Regions from separate parts of the Homo sapiens genome. Here region 1 is linked to region 2. Evidence: promoter capture Hi-C in 16 types of primary human blood cells and fetal thymus (Javierre and others, 2016). All regions are on one chromosome and are shown on one strand. Each heading gives the region's core, a stretch centred on a gene start or on the middle of the fragment in contact. The rest is flanking DNA. Distances are from core to core; before and after follow the strand shown. Region 1 overlaps FDX1 (ferredoxin 1). Region 2 holds the start of ZC3H12C (zinc finger CCCH-type containing 12C).

Region 1 (3,548 bases), core at 1,049-3,548, 340 kb after region 2:
TGTAGTTCTGTCTTTGAAGTTTAACAACTCGATAAGCTATCAGTAATTGAGAGTCAGAAAAACTCCTTTTACTCTAAAATACCGTGACACAAGGGGGTTTGCAGTGATTCAGGTAGCAAAGATCTTTCACGTGTATTGTTTCGTATGACTCTTAAGACAATTCTATGAGGTAGGGAGGGTAGATAAATGGGAATAAAAATTTCATATTAAGTAGCTGGCAAAACTAGGACTAGAACTCAAGAAGTTTTTGCGGATTTTAAAAAAATTTTAAATTTCTATTTATTTTTAAAATTTCAGTAGTTTTGGGGGCACAGGTGGTGTTTGGTTAATGGGTTAGTTCTTTAGTGGTGATTTTGGAGGTGTTGGTGTACTCTTCACCTGAGTGCAGTGGTGCCATCATGGCTCACTGCAGCCTACACCTCCCAGGTTCAAGCGATTCTCGTGCCTCAGCCACCCGAATATCTGGGATTACAGGCGCGTGCCACCACACTCGGCTAAGTTTTGTAGTTTTAGTAGAGATGAGATTTCACTATGTTGACCAGCCTGGTCTGGAACCCCTGGCCTCAAGTAATCTGCCTGCTTCAGCCTCCCAAAGTATTGGGATTACAGGCGTGAGTGACCACTCCCAGCATAGGGTCTACATCTTCTGACTCTTAGGTTCCATACTCTTTCAACTTAAGAATTACATTTTTCTTTCGTTTCCGCCTCCTCTCCTCTTCTTTGGTAAACCTGTTAATACTCTTACTTGGCAGTTTTTTGTAGGGCTGTTTACCTTTAATACAGACCAACAGGTTGGGCTTCTTAGCAAAAGGGCTTGGTCTTTAAATAACAGTTATTAATCAGTGTGTGTTGAATTCTACTATGTGTTACGTATTTTGCATACATTGTCAGAACTATAAGATTAATGTTGTCCAATTTTATAGAAGAGGAGGCTGATGTAAGAGATTTCGAATTCCTTTGCTGTAAGCTTAGCTCTAGAGTGCTTCAGAAGAACAGCAACGCTGAAACCTCTGGCTTTCAGTAGTGTGTATAAATGATGGAATTCTTTCTAATGTGCTTCCTGTAGCTTTAGCTACCAGGCATTCGTTGATGTCAAATCTCTAGACTTCTCTGCTGGGCTCAGACCCATACCCATATTGCCATCTGGTGTTTGGACATTCTCATCTGGCTTTTTCATTATTAAATTCAGCAGGTCTAAGCTTCAACTTATTTCTGTCTTCCCCAAAGTTCCTTTGGTTCCTGTCTTAAACCTAGGTTAAATGGTACCACCTAATTGTGTGAGCTGGAAATCCCAATGTTTTTCTTTCCGCTTTTCAGTTTATCTTATGTAGATGGTCACTAAAACCTTTTGGTCTACCTCCTGGATGTCTGTTAAGTCACTGCATTCTCTGTCCCTGATTAGTTTATGCTGTTTTGATAACCTCCAAAGTGGCCTCCCTGCCTCTAGGGTATTTTCATTCTCAGCCATTGTACTTTGAAAAAAATGGCAGTTATTCATGTTGAAAATTATGAATAATATGTGGGAATACTAGTTTTAAAGCATGTTTTGGCTGTGAAAAGAAGTTGGAGAGCGCAGGCCCTTTTGAGGAACATTCTGGTACACACACACACACCCTTTTGATGAGTTTTAATGAATAGAATCCTGTTTTTTTTCCCAGTGTTATAATATTAGGGAGGGCATTATCCCAGTGGGGCTTCAGTTGCCTCATTTGTGAAATGGGATCACTGGACTTGATAACTTTCGAGATAGTTATGGCTCTGAAATTATTTAATTCTGAGTTTTACTTAAAGATTTGTTTGATGGGCTATTGCCATCTACTGGTAGTAATAAGAATAACAACTCATTATTTTAAGTTGAAGAGAATCTTTTCAAGTGTGAGGTAAAAATTAAAATGACCAATGGTGGAGGAATAAGGATCTAGTTTTTAGTATAATGGCTTCTCAAATTTTGGAGGGATGTTTGTGAGAAGTGAAGGAAATTTAAGTCAGCTAGCTGATAGTTAACATACTATCTTAAAAAAACATGTAAGGAGGTATTTATCTTACAGATTCAAACAAATAAACTTTTTCTAGTCCCTTTGATTTGTAAGTATACAATGTGGACTGAAATGAGATGTCAAATACGCAGAAAACTACTAAACAACATCTCTCAGCAGTAGTATTCTATGTAGCACTGGAAAAGCAATCGCCCTATTGATTTTTTTTTTTTTTTTTTTGGAGACAGAGTTTCACTCTGCCACCCGGGCTGGAGTGCAGTGGTTTGATCTCGGCTCACTGCAACCTCTGCCTTCCGGGTTCAAGCGATTCTCCTGCCTCAGCCTCCCGAGTAGCTGGGATTACAGGCATGTACCACCATGCCTAATTTTTGTATTTTTAGTAGAGACGGGGTTTCGCCATGTTGGCCAGGCTGGTCTTGAACTTCTGACCTCAGGTAATCCGCCCGCCTTGGCCTCCCAAAGTGTTGGAATTACAGGCGTGAGTCACCATGCTCGGCCATGATTTGCTTTTTAGAAGCTCACTACAACCCTGGTCTAGTCTTTTATGGACACATTCATGTTTTTCAGAGAGCTGTGTGATGACTTTTTTTGTTTTTTTTTTTTTTTTTTTTTTTGAGACAGGGCCTTGAGCTGTTGCCCAGGTTAGAGTGCAATGGTGTAATCACGGCTCACTGCAGCCCTGAACTTCTGGGATCGGGTGATCCACCTCAGCCCCATGAGTAGCTGGTACTATGGGCAAATACCACCATGCCTTTTATTTTTCATACACCTACAACCATCTCATTTTTATTTTTATTTTTTGTAGCAATAGGGTCTCTCTGTGTTGCTCAGGCTGGTCTCAAACTCCTGGGCTCAAGCAGTCCCCTGCCTCGGCCTCCCAAAGTGCTAGGAGTACAGGTATGAGCCACCACACTTGGCCTTTTCTTTTTTAAATGACAGGGTCTTGCTGTGTTGCCCAGGCTGGAGTGCAGTGGTGCAATCATATCCCATTGCAGCCTCTTCCTCCTCCTGGGCTCAAGGGATCCTCCCGTTTCAGCCTCCCAATTAGCTGGGACTACAGATCACATCACCACACCTGGCTAATTATTTTATTTTTTGTAAAGATGGGATCTTGCCATGTTGCCCAGGCTGGTCTCAAACTTCTGGCGTCAAACAATCTTCCCACTTCAGCTTCTCGAAGTACTGGGGTTACAGGTGCAAGCTACTGCACTGGCTTGTATGAGAGTAAAATAGAGTTCATGAGTGATAATAATTGCCAAATGTTTTATAACTGTGACTATTAGGGAGACATATACTGAGGCCACCAGGTGGCGTTGACCAGGTAGTCATTGCCATTTCCTGTAAGGTAGTAGAGCTTATTACCTGGTAGGTGGGTAGATATATATGCCTTTGATTTCCAAATAAGCTTTGGAAAGAAAAGAAAATACCTTCGGCTAGGCATGGTGGCTCAGGCCTGTAATCTCAGAGTTTTAGGAGGCCAAGTTGAGAAGATGGCTTGAGGCCAGGAATTTGAGACCAGCTTGAGCAACATGGTGGCACCCCGTCACTACA
Region 2 (7,240 bases), core at 2,623-5,122:
CTCTCAATAGTAGATAATGAATACTCTCATTTACTGAACTATCTGCCTTTTTGAGATAGGACTATAAAATATTTCCACATGCATATCCTGCTGTTAACTCAAATACATGCCTAAAACCAAACTATTCTGAACGTTTTTAAAAGTAGTTTCTGTACTCATACACTGCCCCTTTTTTCCATTAGTAATGCTACAGGTTTCACATTCGCACCCATGAAGTCATTTTAGACTTCTTCCTTTTCTTAAGTCCATCTCCACTAAGTGCACTCAATCATTCACAAAGCCTCTATGATTTGTATACCACAGTGTCTCACTAGCCCATTTCTTCTTTTCCCTCTCTCACTGTCCACTTCGTGATTTCAGGTCAATTCTCCCATATTAGCCTGCAAACTTGTTTCCCTCCATTTTCCAAACCATCCGGTGACCATCACAATATTGGTATTCCTCTAATGGGACATTATCACTTTCTGACCAAAATCCTTCCAGATTCCCTACTAGTACACAGACTACATGGAGCCAAATTCTCTCTTTCTCTCTCTTGCTCTCTCACTCTGTGCATGAGTGAGAGTGTATTCCTTGCTTGTTTTGCAAATCTCTGTAATTTTGTCCTACTTTTCCTTTCCAGCTGTTTGTTATCCTGTTCCCCAAATTTCCCTGGCACTCTTCGTATATGTTATCAATTCTATGAATATGTTCTTCCTTATCCTCTCCACTTATCAAAATACTACTCATTCATCACAATCCAGCTCAAATCTCCCCTTTTTGAAACCCCGACTCATCTTCTATGTAAGTGTTCCTAACCACCCCAACCTAAAGTGATTTCTCTGTCTTCTGATACCTCATGGCATTTATTACCTATACTCACATTTGACACCTATAAATTATCTTCTCTTCTTAGTTTTCTTTTAATTTTTCATGTGTTTTTATTTCTCCAAATAAATAGTAAAGTAATAAGGGCAGTTACTGTATCTTATTCACATAATGGGTCCTGATTCTAGAGTCAAATTGACTGCATTTTAGCCCCTGCACTGTTATTTACTGACTATAATCTTGGTCTTAGTTGTCTCGTCTGTGAAATGGAAATAGTGATAGGTGTTTCCTTATAGGGGTTTTGTGGGCATTATATGAGACAACGCATGCAAAGTGCTTAGAATAGTATCTGGAACATGGTAAGCATTCATTAAATGTTAGTTATTATAACTATTACTCATCTCTTTTACCTTGATTTTTAACCAAGCTTAATCAATGGAGTTCAGCTGAGTCAACTGTGGGATACAAGGTAAGAGGTAGACTGTGTGGGCAGTATACTGCGGAGTGGAGGAACTTCCTGGCATCACTAAAGCCGTGCCATAGATGCTGTCACTTATCGTCAAACAGCCAGTCTCGTTCTAAGTCCCTGCTAAGTCCCTTAGAGATCCTAAGATTGAGGGCCTCTAACTCTGCTCCAGAGACCTCCAAGGTTTTGGCACAGTGTAAAGGGGCTGCTTTCCCAGCCCCTACTTTCCTGCCAATAAAAATCTGACCCGGCTGCAGACAGCAGGCTACCAATCTTCCTAAGGGTCTTCAGGGTGGTATGAAAAAATGTGGACCTGGCCGGGCACAGTGGCTCACGCCTGTAATCCCAGCACTTTGAGAGGCCAAGGAAGATGGATCACTTGAGGCCAGGAGTTTGAGACCAGCCTGGGCACATGGGGAAAACTTGTCTCTACTAAAAATACAAAAACTAGCCAGATGTGGTGACACACACCTGTAATCCCAGCTACTGGGGAGGCTGAGGCAGGAGAATCGCTTGAACCCAGGAGGCGGAGGTTGCAGTGAGCTGAGGTCGCACCACTGCACTCCAGCCTGGGCGACAGGGTCAGACTCTATATAAAAAAAAAGTGTGCACCACAGAACCAGAGAAGGCAGCCTACCTGCCTACCTGCAATTTTATTTAATCGGCTTCATGACTGGCCTACTGACGTGGAAAACAGGCTCAGTAAGACACTCTCCTTTCATCTCACAGGCAGAGTCAGGATGCTCATGTGCACCAGCCAGTAGGATACTCTCAGCTGGGACCCCAACATCAACAGCTAAAGAGCAACTGATGCTGGCCAAAAAGATGGGGACATCTGTGCTGCTCAACTGAGCCATAAAGGCCTACATTTGGTAGAGAATATTAAACTGAAAATTATCAAGTTTGAACCCCAATAAGCATCATGAATATCACTACCATTAGGCAGTCCAAGCAAATTCAACAGATCCAGGCTTAAACCATATATATGCCCTACTGAAAACAACTCAGAGGCAAAACTAATTTTATGAAAGGTAAAAAGTTGATCAAAGGCATGAATCGTGGTCCAGTGAAACAAATGCGTCCTTTAGATGTAACAGACCTGAATACCTCACATTCAAGCTGTGTAACTGCAGGTAAATTTTCTAACCTCGATTTTCTGATGGATAAAGGGGTTTCTAATACCCAGCTCACATGGCTGTGGTGACAAACGGGACAGTGGATTTAAAGCAGGCTATTTGGCCCGTGGCATATGGTAGGGGCACAACCCATTCAGTGTCCCTCCCTCTCACTCCAGAAGCAGACTCATCCTGCCCTAGGCTGCTCGTAATGATTCCAAGGACAGGCGAATAAGGTTATTTGAACATTTCTGAAACATTGACTTAGTTTGTGCTGGGTGTTGTACGATTCACAGAAGTAGAAAGGCTCTCTGCTCCCGGTGCTTTTCAGCCTGCGATTCAGGCGCCCACCTCTGTGCAAAGGGCTGTTTCCTTCCGATCTCCTGAAAGAGATCTGGATGTATCTTGGGTTCAACCTCGATTTTGACACGATTGCCATTTCCATCAAAGCCAATTTCCTTGCTGAAAGAAGTCCTATCCCTGGGTGAAATCCCAACAGCTTCATTTGTTTAAATTCTTTTATTGGCCTTGCTAATGCAGGGTGTGGTTTTTCCTCATCACGGAATATTGATAAGTAAACAACTACGGGGAACCTGCCCTAAGAAGGCGGCCCGTCGATCTCCTTGACTGCCCGGGACATGATCAGTGTTACTGCTGGGTGGAGAAGGTGTCGCCGAGCGGAAAGGCGCCGTCCTGCACCAGGTCGGGGGAGAGGCGCGGGGAGGTCGGGACCGCTGGGTTGGGCCGGGGCAGGGAATAGGCGCGAGGGGAGGCGGCGCGGGAACCTCGGGCAGCCCCAGCGGCTGGGTCGAGCCCGACAGGTTCCAGCAGCTCCCCTCACCCCTCTCCACGCCTCTCGGGTTTTCCCCTTGGCTCAGGGTTTCCTGTTTCAGTTCTCGGCGTTCTCCAGCAGCAGGTGCTGGTTTGCCAACCTCGGCTCCAGAGGCGGCGACGGAGGAGAAGGAAAAGAGGGAAGGGGAGGAGGAAGCGGCGCGGCTGCGGTGGCTGCGGGCGGGCGGGCGGGCGAGGAGCGCGGAGCGAGGTGGCGGAGCCGGGTTCGCTCTCGCCCGCGGAGCAGCGGCACGGACGAAGGGCAGGGCCGAGCCGAGCCCAGCGCTCGGGCGCGCCCGAGCCGGGGCCCTGGCGTGCGGCCAGCTGTCCGGGCGGGAGGCATGAGGGAGCCTCGCGCTCGCCCCGCGCCCTAGCGGCGGCCGCGGCAGCCCAGGGCTGAGGCGAGAGGCGGCCGCCTGCCGGAGGGCCCCGGGGCTGCCCCAGCTCCAGGGCATGTAGTGATGGCTGCGGAGAAGAGAATGCAAGTAGGTTGAGCAACAGATTCGAGTGCGCGCGCGTTGGGGCTGTGAGTTGTGCAACCCAGGGAGGGGGCGCCGGGGCTGCGGCCCGCGGAGAGGGCGCGCGGGCGGGCGCGGCTTGGCGCGGGAGGGCCGCGGTGGCCGCTTCTCCGCGGGCCCCGCCGCCCGCTCGCCGCTTTCTCGCGGGGCTGGCTATGCCGGGTGGCGGCTCCCAGGTTTGTCCTCGGGAAGGGGGTGGGGGACGCGGACCGCGGCGAGAGTGGTCCTGGGGTAGCCGGTCGTGGGGAGGGCCGCGGGGCCGCGCCCGGGCGCCAGGCGGAGGGCGCCGGGGCCGCAGCGACCTCGCCGTGTGATCTCCAGGCCCAGGCGGGTCGGGCTCCGGAGGTCGAGTCACCGAGCTCCGGTCGCTCAGGTGGGGCCGAGCGGAAAGCCCAGCGCATCCTCCCCTCGGGCAACGCCGTCCCCGCCGGGATTTCGGGCGAGGTGAGGCCGGGCTTCCCGGCCCCGCGGCCTAAGGCACCGGTCCCCGCCCGCCCGGGGGCATAGATCGCGAACATGGAGGCGGGCTCGGGCGCCGCGGATGGAAACGGACACACTGCGCTGCCCCAGCGGCTCAGACTCGCGCGCGCTCGTGGGGCGAGACATCTCTTGGCATCTCGGATCCAGCCCTGGCCATTCGCTTAACTATCCATCCCTCCATCCAGATCGCCAGCAACCCCAGGCCGAGCGTCACGAAAGCCCCTCACTCCCCCCTCGTCCCTCCTTCACCCCCAGGCTCCAGTCCAGATCCCTTTTACACGCTGCGTTCATTTTAGCTCGGCTGTTCACATTTTTAACTCCGTATTAAGAAGTGTTACAAATATAACTTGGAGAAATGAATCCCGCATTTCTTCCCTAAGCTGTCTCATTTCAAGTCCTTAAAAACAGCCCTAACATCCAAGTACTGATTACTCTGTCTGGGGTTCTTGCCATTTGGTTATCCGTTAACAATCTCGGTTTGTGTTCGGTGTTTTGTGATAAAGAGATGAAAGACGAATCCAGATTTAGGAAAAGTTTTCCTATTGGTTGACAAGACTGTATTGGAGTATCCCAGGCCCATCAGGCGCTTATTGATTCAGACTTTTTTTAAACCATTTTAGAATAGATGCAGAGATAATTGGAGCTAAGTATTGTATGTTTAGGAATTTGGCAACGTTGTTCAGTTTTTCACTTGTTACGTGCTTGAGTTTTTCCACTTTTAAAATGCATATTATAAACGGAAAACGAGATAAACCTCAAACACAATTTTTGACTTTTCAAGAACCACAAGAAGTCATAAATACAGTGTGTTATAAATGTTTTTGTCTTAATGGACTTAGGATTTAGAGGGTATGACTTCCATTCATTTAATCACATGTACAATTAATTTTAGTAGCAGTTTCTTAAGTTTAGGGTTCTCTGTGTTTGACTACATGATAGCTTCATCAAACATTGGTAAAATTAATCTTAGTGTGATAAGCCCAGGAAGATGCCTATTTCGGACTTGACCCCCTGTTCACCTGTTTTCTTCAACAATTTGGCATGCTTATTTCCAGTTACCTAAATCTGTCTACTGGATGGTACCATAAAAATAGAATGGCCTGTTGACTATGTACCCATAGTTCAAAATGTTTTAATATTTTTACATGAAAGAGTCTATCTTACTTTCAAAGTAAGTTACAAGATTCTACTTCTAGTATTTGGTCACCATAAAAGTACTTAAACATTATAACCAAAGTAAAATGAACTTTTAAATAAACAACAACAAAGTGACTGGCATTTTTTAGCCTTTATTTAATAAGGGAAGTCTAACGGAACTATTTTAGTATAATGGGAAATATTAAAGGATAGGAAACAGAAACTTGGAATGTTTCTATACTGATGAGAGTTTTTATTAGTCACTTCCTTTTACTAAATTTTTGTTTTAATGACCAGACTATATAAAAATACCCTATTTTATATTATGGGCTTCTCTGGAGCTAGGTTTTCATGGGTTACCAACGTCTGCAAAATCGGATCCCAAGTTGTTAATAGAAATTTTATGTTTAAAACATTTTTCTCATTCTACAACTAGGTCTTCATTCTAGCAGACCACAGTGGTTGCTACATTAATTTTAATTACTATCACAGACGTAAAAATGTTGCTGTTATAACTTCTTAGTGTGTTTCATTGTTTTTGTACATAAATTTAGAATTCTTTAATTCTGATTTGATAGCATTTTTAAAGAAACAAACAAGGTATTAAGTAGGGAATGTTTTTATCTTTTTACTGTTGGAACGTAGAATAACACTAATCTGCAGTTATTGCTCATTTGAAACTGGTATGCTTCTGTTCTCTCTGCAAATAATTACTTATTATCACTCTAGCTGCTGTGTAAGGCCCCCGACCTCTAAAAGGATAGATTATGAACGAACATAATGCTATGTGGAAAGTACTAAGTTCCGTGAAAAAAGAAGTGAGAAATTCAGGTACTGGGGAGTGCCTCAAAGGTAGGATTTGAGTAGGTAGAGCTGGTTGGGAGTCATTTCCAAATGAGTCAGTGAACCCTGGAAGGAAAGCAGGGAGTGGGCGGTCCAGTATGTGGCGCATGGGGCAGATGATAGGAGTAGTGAGTGGGTAAGTTGGCAAATAGAGTTTTGGAGTATAGTTTTTATTAGAGCAATATTAAGTAAATAAGATGGTCAGTGAATAATGAAAATTAATTCAATCAGGATTCCAAATTTAAGCCTAAAATATTGAGATTCCGGAGTTTGATCGTAAATCTACCAAATGTTCTAAAAAAGCTTCTTGTGTTTTAAGTGCTAATATGCCTCATGGACCTGCAGCATATGAAATCTCATGACTTTACAAAGTGAAAATGTGTGAAGATTCAACAAAACACATGTTATAATCTCTGCTGCTGTTTTGCAATTAATAGTTCAGAGAAAGGATGATCAATCAAGAATGTGATTTTTTAAGAAAGATCTATTTCACCCCAGAATAGATCTCTAATTTCTTGGTGATTCAAGATTTGTTTAAAATTTTTGTAGGATTAGTGTGTAAATTAAATATCTGACACATAGTAATTTTTGGCATCTGATAGTATAAAGATAACTGCAGATATGTGTTGTGGCGGCATCAATTCTCTACTGTTGTTTTGGTTTTTATAGGTGACATAGTAATAGTCACGTTTGTACACTGATGTGCCAGACAACATGCTAAGTCTACATGCATTATCTCATTTAACCCTTGAACACCTTTATGCATTGCTTCTATTATCCCCAGTCTATAGATGCGGAAGCAGAGACACTGAGTTTGAGTAACTTGCCCAAAGTCATATAGCTAGTAAGTTGCAGAAAGGAGTTCAGACCCAGGCAGTCTGACTTTATAACCCATGATCTTAACCACTGTGCAAGTTCTGCCTCGATAGGATTCTGTTTTTAGTTTGTTCTCTAAAAAGTGTGTCATCATGTATGTTGTTTTGTTGACATACACCATTTGAAAATTAAGTGATGCATAGTGAGTATGTAAGACGAGAAGCCTT

Evidence for each region. The method cuts DNA at HindIII sites, captures the fragments that hold promoters and counts their contacts. A CHiCAGO score of 5 or more calls a contact.
Region 1: a contact is called between a fragment that was not itself captured here and the fragment with the promoter of ZC3H12C in region 2, in 2 of 17 cell types (M0 macrophages and endothelial precursors). The highest score is 5.9, in M0 macrophages.

What each region holds. Positions count from the first base shown.
Region 1 is chr11:110,432,138-110,435,685 of GRCh38, forward strand. The region is part of intron 1 of FDX1 (ferredoxin 1); the gene reads left to right. Among named protein-coding and RNA genes, the nearest start is that of FDX1, 4.0 kb to the left of the region's middle. The HindIII fragment of the contact is 2,203 bases long and covers 1,198-3,400 here.
Region 2 is chr11:110,089,520-110,096,759 of GRCh38, forward strand. ZC3H12C (zinc finger CCCH-type containing 12C) reads left to right here and starts at 3,873. Exons shown (of 6, transcript NM_033390.2): 1 at 3,873-3,913. The coding sequence starts at 3,893. RefSeq lists silencers at 3,083-3,142, 3,443-3,702, 3,763-4,232. The HindIII fragment of the contact is 5,266 bases long and covers 1,233-6,498 here.